2 separate regions of the Homo sapiens genome follow, and region 1 is linked to region 2. Evidence: promoter capture Hi-C in 16 types of primary human blood cells and fetal thymus (Javierre and others, 2016). All regions are on one chromosome and are shown on one strand. Each heading gives the region's core, a stretch centred on a gene start or on the middle of the fragment in contact. The rest is flanking DNA. Distances are from core to core; before and after follow the strand shown. Region 1 overlaps SKIC3 (SKI3 subunit of superkiller complex). Region 2 holds the start of MCTP1 (multiple C2 and transmembrane domain containing 1).

Evidence for each region. Contacts are between HindIII fragments. The CHiCAGO score rates a contact against its expected background, and 5 or more counts as called.
Region 1: a contact is called between a fragment that was not itself captured here and the fragment with the promoter of MCTP1 in region 2, in 2 of 17 cell types (megakaryocytes and endothelial precursors). The highest score is 9.6, in megakaryocytes.

Annotation. Positions count from the first base shown.
Region 1 is chr5:95,510,452-95,516,529 of GRCh38, reverse strand. SKIC3 (SKI3 subunit of superkiller complex) reads left to right here. Exons shown (of 43, transcript NM_014639.4): 24 at 1-5; 25 at 121-177; 26 at 1,607-1,675; 27 at 2,885-2,959; 28 at 3,912-4,053. Among named protein-coding and RNA genes, the nearest start is that of SKIC3, 41 kb to the left of the region's middle. The HindIII fragment of the contact is 916 bases long and covers 793-1,708 here.
Region 2 is chr5:95,281,194-95,287,100 of GRCh38, reverse strand. It overlaps MCTP1 (multiple C2 and transmembrane domain containing 1), which reads left to right and starts at 2,007. Exons shown (of 23, transcript NM_024717.7): 1 at 2,007-3,245. The coding sequence starts at 2,526. RefSeq lists silencers at 2,659-2,718, 2,799-2,918. The HindIII fragment of the contact is 7,244 bases long and covers 1-3,483 here.

The sequences.
Region 1 (6,078 bases), core at 1-2,500, 230 kb before region 2:
AAATTGTGAGTATTCTATGTGTCTATGAAAAAGAACTTCAAAATTTAGTATTACTAATTTTCTGAGACTTTCAACTAGACAAGGGGCCTATTTTAAGAAAAAAAATGTTATGTTTTTTAGAATGCTGTTGCATGGACCAACTTGGGAGTGTTATACCTCACAAATGAAAACATTGAGGTAAATATGTTGCCTGTCTGTCATATTTAAAACAAAGAATGTTTTCTATATTATTGTCTCCTCAATAGCTCAGCTTCTTGTGGAGAAATGTTTTTGCACATCGTTATCTAGCCAGTATGCTCTCCAGTATGCTAGTTAATTGATGATATTCAATTTATGTCGAATAATTAATGTGTAAGATTTATTTTCCTTTTTATGACCTTCAAGAAACTTCTGGTTTTGTGATTATGTTGGTTTTTCATTTAGAGATTAAAACAGTTTGATTCTGAATCAATTCAGCATTTTTTTAAATCTGTACACATGTAAGAGAAGTCCTATGTAGATAGTGTTGGAGGTGGAGTGGATGAGCACAAGGGAGACAGTTAGTACTCTCTAGCAGCTTAAATTTAACCTTTCTTGGATGCTTTACATTTTGGCTTTAGTAGATATTAATCTCTTTAAATAGCAAGTGTAATTTGTCATACTTGAGCAATTATACATTAGGCAATTAGAACTAAAGTGACTGGGAGTATGTTTATAGGTCATGTTTGGAAAGTTTCCATAAATCTATAGGTAATACCATGTCTGAACTGTTTTGTGTTTCAGCTGGTATATTGAATCTCATCCCAAAAAGCTTTCTCAATATTCTCAAGGATACATTAAGTCCCTGCAAAAAAGACTGGATTTAGAAAATTGTAAATAGATTGAAGAAAATATTAATTTGGATTTTAAAATACGTGAACTTTTTTTAATTTAAATAAAACAATGTCTTAATAAGCTATGGATGTGGTTTTATTGTAGCATGGGATAGTTTTTGCCCATGAGCTTACTTTTTAAAAATAGGAAAAATAAGACTGTTTCCTGCCATACATAGATTGTTGAGAAAATAGTATAAAGCAGTATGTAATAAAAAGTTATTTTTTGTAGCAGAAAAAAAAGCATCCAAGTTAATGTGTCCAAATTAGATATTTTTGAAGTTTCCTGATTGCTTAATGCAGAATTATGTTGTTGATCACTCCTTCTCTGGTAGCAGGTATACACATGTCTAGGACTTCATTGGTTAGGACTTCATTGGTTGTGAGTTCTTATCCTCCCAGTTAAGCTAAAAGGGGAATAGATAGCCTTATTTAATCATTGCCTTCAAACCTATGGCTATCTAATGGATGGATGATTGGTTGGTTAAAAGTTCTGCAGATGACAAGGTAGAACCCTTTTTTGCTAGGGTTCAGAACTCCTAACCTGGGGAGAAATCTGTTGCACCCAGGAGTGTTCCAGAACTGTGTAGTTAAAACACTGCTTTAAGCATTGCTAATTATGCTTAAACAGTGAAATTTTATGTTCATACATATTTATGATGAGAGGTTTGACTTATTTTATGCTTTTTAAACATAAGCGGTTTAATAAGTTTATAAAATGACTTGCTGTAATATTTTTTGCCTTTTTTTCCTAGCAAGCTCATGAGGCTTTCAAAATGGCTCAATCCCTTGATCCATCTTATTTAATGTGCTGGATTGGACAAGTAAGAAATATAACATATAGTTACTAATAAGCTTGTTGATATCAATAACTGACTAATATGCATAACAGTGATAATAATGGTAACGGATAGCATTTGAGGGCTTACTTTGTGCCAGTCACTGTGCTTAGCTCTTTGTATACACTATTTCAGTTAATCTATCAATCATCAATTCTTTGAGATATGGTTGATGTTATACTCTCTTTATAGTTGTGGAAATAGAAACTCAGAGCTCCTAAGTGTCATTCCTAAGGCCACGTAGCTTGTAAGGATTTAACTCTGACTTGGGGGGCCTTTGAACACTTACCAGTCTGACATTACTGTGCCTAAAAAATAAACCCAGAACTCTATTGTTTAACTCACATGTACAAAGAAAATGCACATTTACAAAGATCATTTTGAATATTATGTTTCTGTAAAATCTTCATATTTGGTTTGTCACTTGTTTATGAGTGTTCTTTCCTCCCCCAAATTCAGATTTTTGTACTGCCAAATAGGAATCAGGATACTTTGTTACTAGTCTGAGTCTGTTACCTACTGATTTTTTTTTCTTTTTTTACCTTAGCATATCACTTTTCTGGATTTTAATTTTCTCACCTGAAAAAGAAGGGGATTAGACTGAGTGGCCTCGAAGTTCTTGCCTGGTTGAGAAATTATAATGAATTAGTAAGCAGTCAGTTGCTTATCAGAAAATTATTAATCAGGGTTTAGAGATCTTTTGTTGTATTTTAGACTCTTGGGCCTAATTCTAGTTAATTGGTGAAGCAAGCAGAGCTAGAAAGGCAAACTCCTGTTCCCATTCACTGTGGTAGCATTTGGGAGCAGTGGCGTTACTGTGCTAGCCTCTGTGTCAGCCATTGAACCCAGGGAGTCCAAGAATTTGCATTCTAACTGCTCCCAAGTGATGATTATGAGGCTGGTCCAAGGGACCTCACTTCGCGTAGTACTGCTCTAGCTCAGTAGATCTTAGATGATTATCAGAATCACTTTTTAATTTTTATTTTAAAAGTATTTTTGGTTTTAAAAATAATTTATTTTAGCAGGTAACTGGAAGATTTAGTTAAAATAATAACAATAGAAGTGAAAAACTTAGGTTAACTTTGCTTTTAAGCTCAGCTAGTAAACCTTTGGTTCTTCTAGACAGTTTCATTTTGTATTATTATTGTTACTGTCTTTTAAACACATTAAGAGTCTGTTTTTTTCCTTTTATAGGCTCTTATTGCTGAGGCAGTTGGAAGTTATGACACCATGGATCTCTTCAGGCACACTACAGAACTAAATATGCATGTAAGAATCTGAACATTCTTCTTGAGGATTCATTAATGAGAAAAGTGTTATCCTTGTTAAGGGAATGAATAGATATTGGGCTAGGCATAGTGGCTTATGCCTGTAATCCCAGTGATTTGGGATGCCAAGGCAGGAGGATTGCTTGAGGCCAGCCTGGACAATATAGCAAGACCCTGTCTCTTAAAAAAAAAAATTAAAAATTAGCCAGGTATGATGGTGTATACCTGTAGTCCTAGCTACTCAGGAGGCTGAGGCAGGAGGATTGAGTCCTGGAGTTTCAGGATACAGTGAGCTATGATCATGCCATTGCACTCCAGCCTGGGCAACAGAGCAAGATTCTGTCTCTAAGAAAAGGAAAAAGAAAATGAATAGATAGTGGTATTAGATGTTAATGACATCAGTTGTTTTTATTCTTTATTCTTTCTTAGAAACAGATTAGTTTTCTCGAATTAAAGAACTACCATTTTTCTTTTTTCTACAACTTTCAAGAGCTGGTGAAGAAATGATGTTTAGATTTAATAGATATAGTAGCAGTCATATATTAATAGAATAGAAACTGAGACTCTAGGAAAAAGATAGACATGAGATAAGGAGTAGGCATGGTAGACATTTCTAGATTATTTATGAAAATGTTGTAGAATTCATTTTTTTTTTTGGTCTGACCTTTGGCAATGGTGCTGAGGAAGGGAAAGCCAGCCCATCAGGCAAGGCTCTGTTTTCTGCATTTTATCCCGTTTGATTCTTCTCGTTAGGATTGGAGCAAATAATTTCAATATGTTCTTCGCTGTGTTTTATCATAGTGACCCTTCATTTAAAGGTACTTTTAACAATTGACTTAAAGAACACTGAGATGTGATATTTATTGTATTGAAGTGCATTGTTTTACTTCTTATTATAATTTTTATTGACACATTTATTATCCTATGTCTGCTTAACGTTGGCTTTTTTAAAGACTGAAGGAGCATTAGGTTATGCGTATTGGGTCTGCACAACATTGCAAGATAAAAGCAACAGAGAAACAGAGCTGTACCAGTACAACATCCTCCAGATGAATGCTATTCCAGCAGCACAAGTTATTTTGAATAAATATGTAGGTAAGGTACCTGTTATATAATAGCAAGATATTTGAGCAACTATTGAAATAATTTAAATAATTTTTAAAATTAATTCATGTCAAATTAAATATTGGTATTCTTTAAGACATGAATTTGCCTTCTTTTTGCAACAGCGAAGCAGTCTTTACTTTGTAAACTTTAATAAAGGCTTTTGAAGAAAGATAAAAATTGTTACCTAATGATGCAAGAAAAAAGTAATTTCCTTGTTATAGTGTAGAGTGTATTAGGCTTTAATACACTCTCCACTATACACTATACACTAGAACAGTTGCTGCTGTTCTCGCTTTGCCTTTAACTTTCTCTGCAGTCTTAGGCCAAGTGTTTTACCACCCTTAACTTCTGTTTACTCCCTGGATAGTGGATATAACAATACCTGGATTGTAGAGTTGTGAGAACTAGATGAGATAATATAAATGAAGTGCCAAACCCAGTGCCTTTAGCTTCCCCACTTAACACCTGATTTTTCTTGAAGATATTGGAAAGATACATTTAGGTTTAGGAAGTTGACAGAGTGGTGAAATTTTATTAACCATCTGTTGTAATAATTCCGTCTTTTTTAATAAAACTACCATTGGGTTTTAATCTCTGCTCCACCACTTAGTAGCCTTGACTGAAACCTTGGGCATGCTACCAAAATTCTCAACAGGAAAGTGTTTATTGCTTAGTGTTTAAACAAGATGATTTGTACAAAATGTTATGCAGGGTGCCTGGCATATCCTAGATGCTCAAGAAATGTTAGTTTCATTAACTTTTGACAAAATGCTAATAAAGAAGCAAGGAGTTTAAGCAAGAGTACTGAAAACAGTAAATATTGGCAGTCAAATAATATAAAGAATCAGATAAATTGTGAAAAACAGGAGAGAAAATGCCTCACTGTAGATATTGTGGGGATTGTGGCACTCTGCATGCATTTAGCCTGAGGCACTAGACTAGGCAATTAATTTACAAACATCAGCACTTGGGGGGGTTTGCCTTAGGGTGGGTGTGGCATGTGAAGGCATGGATCTCCTCATGCTTATTTTGTATTTATTTATTTATTTTTTGAGACGGAGTCTCGCTCTGTCACCCAGGCTAGAGTGCAGTGGCGCAATCTCGGCTCACTGCAACTTCACCTCCCAGGTTTAAGCCATTCTCTTGCCTTAGCCTTCCGATTAGCAGGTAGGCGTTACAGGTGTGTGCCACCACGCCCGGCTAATTTTTTGTATTTTTAGTAGAGGTGGGGTTTCACGGTATTAGCCAGGATGGTCTCAATCTCCTGACCTGGTGATCCACCCGCCTCGGACTCCCAAAGTGTTGGGATTACAGGCGTGAGCCACTGTGCCTGGCCCTCATGCTTATTATGACTCAATTTTGTTGACTCTTTCTTTTGTGACTTTAAGGATTTTTCAAGAATAACTTTGACTATTTGATTTTAACCTTAGTTGTTGATCTTAGAACCTAGCAATCACAAAAGATATGGTTACAGTGTACTTTGTTAAATAATCTAAAGGATTTGAAGGCTTACTTTCCACTACTACTTTTAAGTACATTAGATCAGATACATTTCTTTTTCTACATTTTACCTTCATAGATAGGTAATCACCCAATGGGTTCACTTTGCCCGCTGCCTAGACAGAGCCAATATATCAAGACAGGGGAATTGCAATAGAAAAAGAGAAATTCATGCAGAGCCGGCTGTGTGGAGGACTAGAGTTTTATTATTACCGAAATCAGTCTCCCCGAACAAGCATTTGGGGATCAGCATTTTTAAGAATAATTTGGTGGATGGTGGTGGGCAGGCAGTGAGTAGGGAGTGCTGATTAGTTGGGTTGGAGATGAAATCATAGGGAGTTGAAGCTGTCTTCTTGCGCAGTCAGTTCCTGGGTGGGGGCCACAAGATCAGATGAGCCAGTTTATCAATCTGGGTGATGCCAGCTGATCCATCAAGTGCAGGCTCTGAATAGTGATGTTATCCCCAGGAACAATTTGGGGAGGGTCAGAATCTTGTAGCCTCCAGCTGTATGA
Region 2 (5,907 bases), core at 758-3,257:
GTATGTAGTTCTATGCAGTCCTATCCTGTGTATAACACACATTCATGTAACCACCACCACAATCTAAATTTGTCTCATCATAACAAATAAACTTCTTTATTCTGATCCTTTACATTTGCCCCACCGCTAACCCCTGGCAACCACTATCCATCTCTATAATCTTGTCATTTCAATAATATTATTTAAATGCAGCCCAGTGTTTCTCCATTCACGTTGCTCTTTTTCCAAAGCATAGTATTCATATACTTGGGAAATACTGGGTCTACCAAATAACAATAATATCAACTATATACAGGCACTGAGCTAAGTCCTTTTTCCACTTAATCTTCAAAATAGCCCTGTGAGGCTATTTATTAATACCTGGCATTAGTATTAGTAAATCACATCACATTACCCTCACGATTAAAAAAGACCTCTAATGTCTCCCAATTTCATTTAGAGGAAACATGGACTCTCACTCTGGCTATAGGACCCACTCCCTTAGCTGACCTTTTGTTTCACTACATCTCTTACCAACCCCACCCACCTTGCTCTACTCTATTTGGAGTGGTATCGTTCTGTCCTTGAATATGCCCAGTCAAGCTGCTTCCTGCCTCAGGACCTCTGTATCTGCTGTTCCTTCTACCTGAAATTCTACAGTCAGATCCGTCAATAGCTGGTTCTCTGTCCTCATTAAGTCTTAACTCAAAATTTTATCTTCTCAGAGAGACTCTCCCTGTACACATAATGTAAAAAACCAAAAACCTCTCCATATGGGGCTGCCAGATTTAGCAAACAAAAACATGACACCCAGTTAAATTTAAATTTCAGATAAATAATAGTATTTTAGTATAAGTATGTCCCATGCAATATTTGGGACATACATATACTAATATTATTCATTGTTTCTCTGAAAGTCAGTTTAATTGGGTGTCCTGCATTTTGTCTGGAAGCTCTTCCTCTGTAGCCACTCTGTTATGTGGTACCCTGCTTAACTGTTTCCATGGGACTTTTGCATATTAGAAATTCTGTTTATTGTCTCGCATCACCTCCCAACCCTCACCCTCACAATAAGCTCCATGTGGGTGGGACCCTGATGCCCTGTTCACAGCTGCATCCCCAGAGCCTATCACAGTGCCTGGTATATAGTAGGTGCTTAATAAATATTTGTTATAAAGGTAACAAAAACAAAACAAAACAAAAAACTTAGGTTGGTAACACCTCCAAAGCATACTGCTAGCTAGACAAGACTGATCAGTGTGCTACCGCAGCTTAGGGAACTCTCCCGTTTTCCCCATTTAGGAGGACGAAAGAGGCATTGTGTTGCTGGCCTTTCAGAAGTCTCTCCTAGCAGAATCAGAAGACCCTGGCTGAGCAGCTTTGGGAGAAGCAAAGTCTGAATGAGCTAAAAAGCCTTTTCCGTTTGCCTTGCAACAAGCAAATGAAGTAACCAAAGAAAAAATGCGCTTGAATGAAAAGAACAAGATTCTGTGCGTGCCGAATCGGATCAAAGGCAGTGCGCATCACCCATCTTCGTCCACCGTAAACTCCCTGCAACTTAAGGGCTGGCTTTATCGTCAGACTCCGGAAATGCTAGAACCTGATCATAAGAGACCAGTGCAGAGGCAAATAAAGAAAAGGGAGGGGTGGATGGGGATGAAGTCAAGACAGAAGAAATTAAACTCTCGTCTTGGACCCAGGGAGCGCAACGGGGCGGGGGCAGACGTCTTCAGCTTTAGAACTCCGTCGGGTTCATCGCTCAGTGTGGACGATCGGCGCCCCCACGAGACCCATCGAGGGCACATAGTTTCCACTCCAGCTCGCTTCATCCGACCCAGACGATCGCCAGCGCGGCCAGCGGCCAGCGCACAGCGAGCTGCCTGGGCAACTGTGGCCGGATCCTAGGGAGCAAGCTGGCTTCGGGCCCTACCTAGCTCCACCCGGCTCCTACCGGCCCTCCCACCTAGGAGCTGGAGGATGGTCCCGGGGCGCCCCAGGGGGACTGCTGGTCCCCGGAGTCTCCAGCCAGACGCGCCTTGTTGTGTGAGCCGCGTGCGCGCCCAATTTGGAGGCAGCCGCCCCCGCCGCTGACAGGTGCTGCCCAGAGGGCGCCGGGTGCGGTCCCTGGCGCAGCTGGACGCGCACGCCCCGGTGCGTGCAGCTTCCCGAGCTCGGTCAGAGAGAAGAGGGAGCCAGGGCGCGGCCTGGGGGACGCCAGTGGACTGGAGCCGCGGAGCTTCGAGGGAAAAACTTTGCAGGCGCCGCGGCCGGGATTCGGTTACGGCTCCAGCCCACCCCAGCAGGTGCGGGAGGAAGAGGCAGCGCCGGAGTCCCGAGGCCAGAGAGCCTCGGCGGCGGCGGCCGCTTCTTTCCCCCGAGCTGGCCTGAAGTCGCTGGGCACTCCCGGTTTCTGCTGCTGCGCCCGCCGCCGCCGCCGCCGCCACCGCCAGCGCCGCGGGGACCCGGGAGGAGGTGCAGCCGAAGAGGGAGGAGAAGCAGGAGGAGGAGGAGGAGGAGGAGGGGAGAGGAGGAGCAGGGGGTGGAGGATGGAGCCCCGGGCTGCCGCGGCGGGCGAGCCAGAGCCGCCGGCGGCGTCCTCCTCCTTCCAGGCCCGGCTCTGGAAGAACCTGCAGCTGGGGGTGGGCAGGAGCAAGGGCGGCGGGGGCGGGCGCGCTGGGGGTCCAGAGCGCCGCACTGCGGACACCCCGTCGCCCTCCCCGCCACCCCCGGTGGGCACAGGGAATGCACCGGCCAGGGGGAGTGGTGCAGGCAGCAGGTGGAGCGGCTTCAAGAAGCGGAAGCAAGTGCTGGACCGAGTCTTCTCCTCCTCGCAGCCCAACCTGTGCTGCTCGTCGCCGGAGCCCCTGGAGCCCGGCGGCGCCGGCAGAGCCGAGCAGGGGTCCACGCTACGCCGCCGGATCCGCGAGCATTTGCTCCCCGCCGTAAAGGGGCCCGCGGCGGCCTCGGGAGCAGCGGGAGGGACGCCTCCTGGCGGACGCTCCCCCGACTCAGCTCCTTCCTCTTCCTCCGCCTCATCCTCCCTGTCCTCCTCGCCCCAGCCTCCCCCGAGGGGGGACCGCGCCCGAGATGAGGGTGCACGGCGTCAGGGCCCCGGGGCGCACTTGTGCCACCAGAAGAGCTCCTCTCTGCCGGGCACCGCCTGCCTGGAGCAGCTGCTGGAGCCGCCGCCTCCTCCCGCAGAGCCGGCGCGGAGTCCCGCGGAGTCTCGGGCCCCGGAGACGGGCGAGGAGCACGGCAGCAGCCAGGTGAGTGCCGGTGGCGCGGCCGGAGACAAGGTGCGCGGGACCACGCCTCCCTCTTCAGGCGTTCACCACCCGGGGAGCGGGGGGCGGGGGCCGGGAGGCGGGAGGAGAAATGCTATTAATTCTAAGTAGATGAAACAGTCGAAAGAAAACATCTCGCTCTGGTTTAGCAAAGATGAAAGAGTTCTGACTTGCACCCGGACTTTACTTTTGGTAGAAATGATACCTGTCACCAGAAGCTTTCTGAGTAGTCAATGAAAAGTTAGACCTAAAGTGGGTACTTTTTAGAGTTCTCCTGAAAGGAGATGTCCAGCCAAATCTCATCTTGGCAAAAGAAAAAACTAACCCAATAACTTAAAAACAATTACGATCACGTGTGGTGGTGTGGAGAGGTACCATTGGAAGCAAATGGCTGGCGGGAAGAAATAGAAACGTGGAGAGGTAAATTATGGCACATGTGAGGTCCTGTGCCAGGGAAAGCATCATCTCAGGCCTGCATCCGGCACCCCTTTCTTAAACCTTCCTGCTGCAATTGGATCACCGCCCTTCAAGTGGACAGCGGGAGCGTCTCCTCCCAGTTAGTCAAATGCATATGTTCCTATGAGCCTTGTGAAGTTTTAATAGTCACCTGAAGCACTTGCTTTTTAAAGTATGCTGCTTTATACATCATGTTGATTGCTCAGACAAGAGTCAAGGTTTGTAAAAGTGCTTTTACTAGAAATTTTATGTGTGGGACCCACAATGTGTCCCACTGAATAGCCGTTTTTACTCCCTCAATTTCGAAGAGGCACTGCTCTTTTTGTAAATGTTTATCAAATCATTTTAATTCTAGAAAATATTTTGGAAGTTTCACTCTGCCAGAGACCTAAAGAACATTTTTCTCCCAATATATCTTAGTTTACTTACACTTTCTCATTGTTTTGACTCTGATTAATTATGTTAGATGAATGACACTTGCATTAAAACTTTAGTTATTAGTAGATTAAAAGCTCAGCTACAAAGAAACAGGCTGTGTTTGAAGGGTAAGATACGGGAATAGATAGGCTTTCAGTTGGAAGTTTTTATAGTTCATGGACTGATTTCTTAGTGTAGCTCCAGAAAGTAAAGCAGAATATGAATATGTTTTGTTCCTTAATAAACAAAATTGCTTGCTGTAAGCAAACACCTGATGATCCAGAAAAATATTTTATTCTCAGAAGAGTAAGTAGAGATAATAGTGACAAAAAGACCAAATACATTTACCTTTCCTGTCATCTTGAAAGTGAACTGGATAGAGCCCCTGTTTTTGGTTTTAAAAGTAAAGTGATAAATGGTTTTAGAAGAATGTTTTAAATTCAGTATAGATGAATACTATATATTAAAGGAAGTATTTATTTTTGAGCGTGTACATAATCCTAATGTAGAAGAATTTCAGAGTTGGGGAACTTTACATTTTTTTCTTTCACTATCAAGGATAATAGAATAACAAATAATAATTGAATTATTTTGAAAGGTATATATCATATTACCGTGAATGTTAACTTATTAAATCACATTACAGTTCACTGAACCAAGATATTTTTAAAGCAAAAATAGATAACTCTGAATTTTTTATGTTCCTTTTTGCCAAAAAGTTTTCAGAAACTGTCAATCTTTATTAAAAAAAACACTACTATGTAAGTATGAATTTTGTATACAAAAGATATAAACTTATTCTGGAGAAGATACTAAATTAACACTATTATGTATGCCTTCACCATATGCTGGGCATTTTATAGCCCTACATAGTTTAACCCTCACAGCAGACCTATGTGATTGTCACTTTACAGATTCGTAAACCAATGCTCACATAGGTTAAATAAGCTTTCCAGGGTCACGTAGTTAGTAGATGACAGAGAGAAGTTTTGTACTCAAGTCAGTCTCCAGAATCTTTTTCCATTATGACAGCTACCTTTGACAACTTTTAGAACTTGTTCCATTTTTTAGATGTCTTTGGTCTTACTGATGAAAGTAGAGCCTTGCAAGTTTACGTATATTCTGGAGATTTTTCCCCATCCCTATATACAATCAATTCTATGATGGATTAGCTATCATAATTTGTAATTTGTTCTGTGATGTATTGTTGCATGTATATTTTGTCACGAATGAGATTATCATGATCTATAACTCTGAAGAAGCTTTTCATTATAGAGAATCAGCATTTCGACATAGACATAAGAGAAATAGAAAAGCTAAAATATCTTTCAAAAAATAAGAGAAAGATGGGATATAGGCAGACAGAATGGTAAACCCTGAGGGACTTGCCCAATGCCAGACACAGTCCCAGAAAGAGATACCATTTTTGGTCCCTAGCGTCTGCTGCTCATGGGGCCTTGTTCTCTGGGAAGTGGAGAGATTTCTCTGTAATGAGTCACAAATAATGGCTTTCAGCAGCACTCTCTGACCAATGTAAAAGAGAGGATTTCTCAGTCCTGGAAATACCTCTCTGCCCATCTCAAAGGAGCCCGGCTCACCTCTGAATGGGAAAGAGGAAAAAATGGAATTGGAACCTGGAAGGGGATGCATTCAGCTGCTCAGGAGTCAGCTTAGCTTTGCAGCACTCTTCCAAGCTTCCTGAATATCTCAGAGATCTTTCCTTACTCTCTCAGCAGCTCATCTCCAAAGTGACCTGGGCATGGGAAAGGGG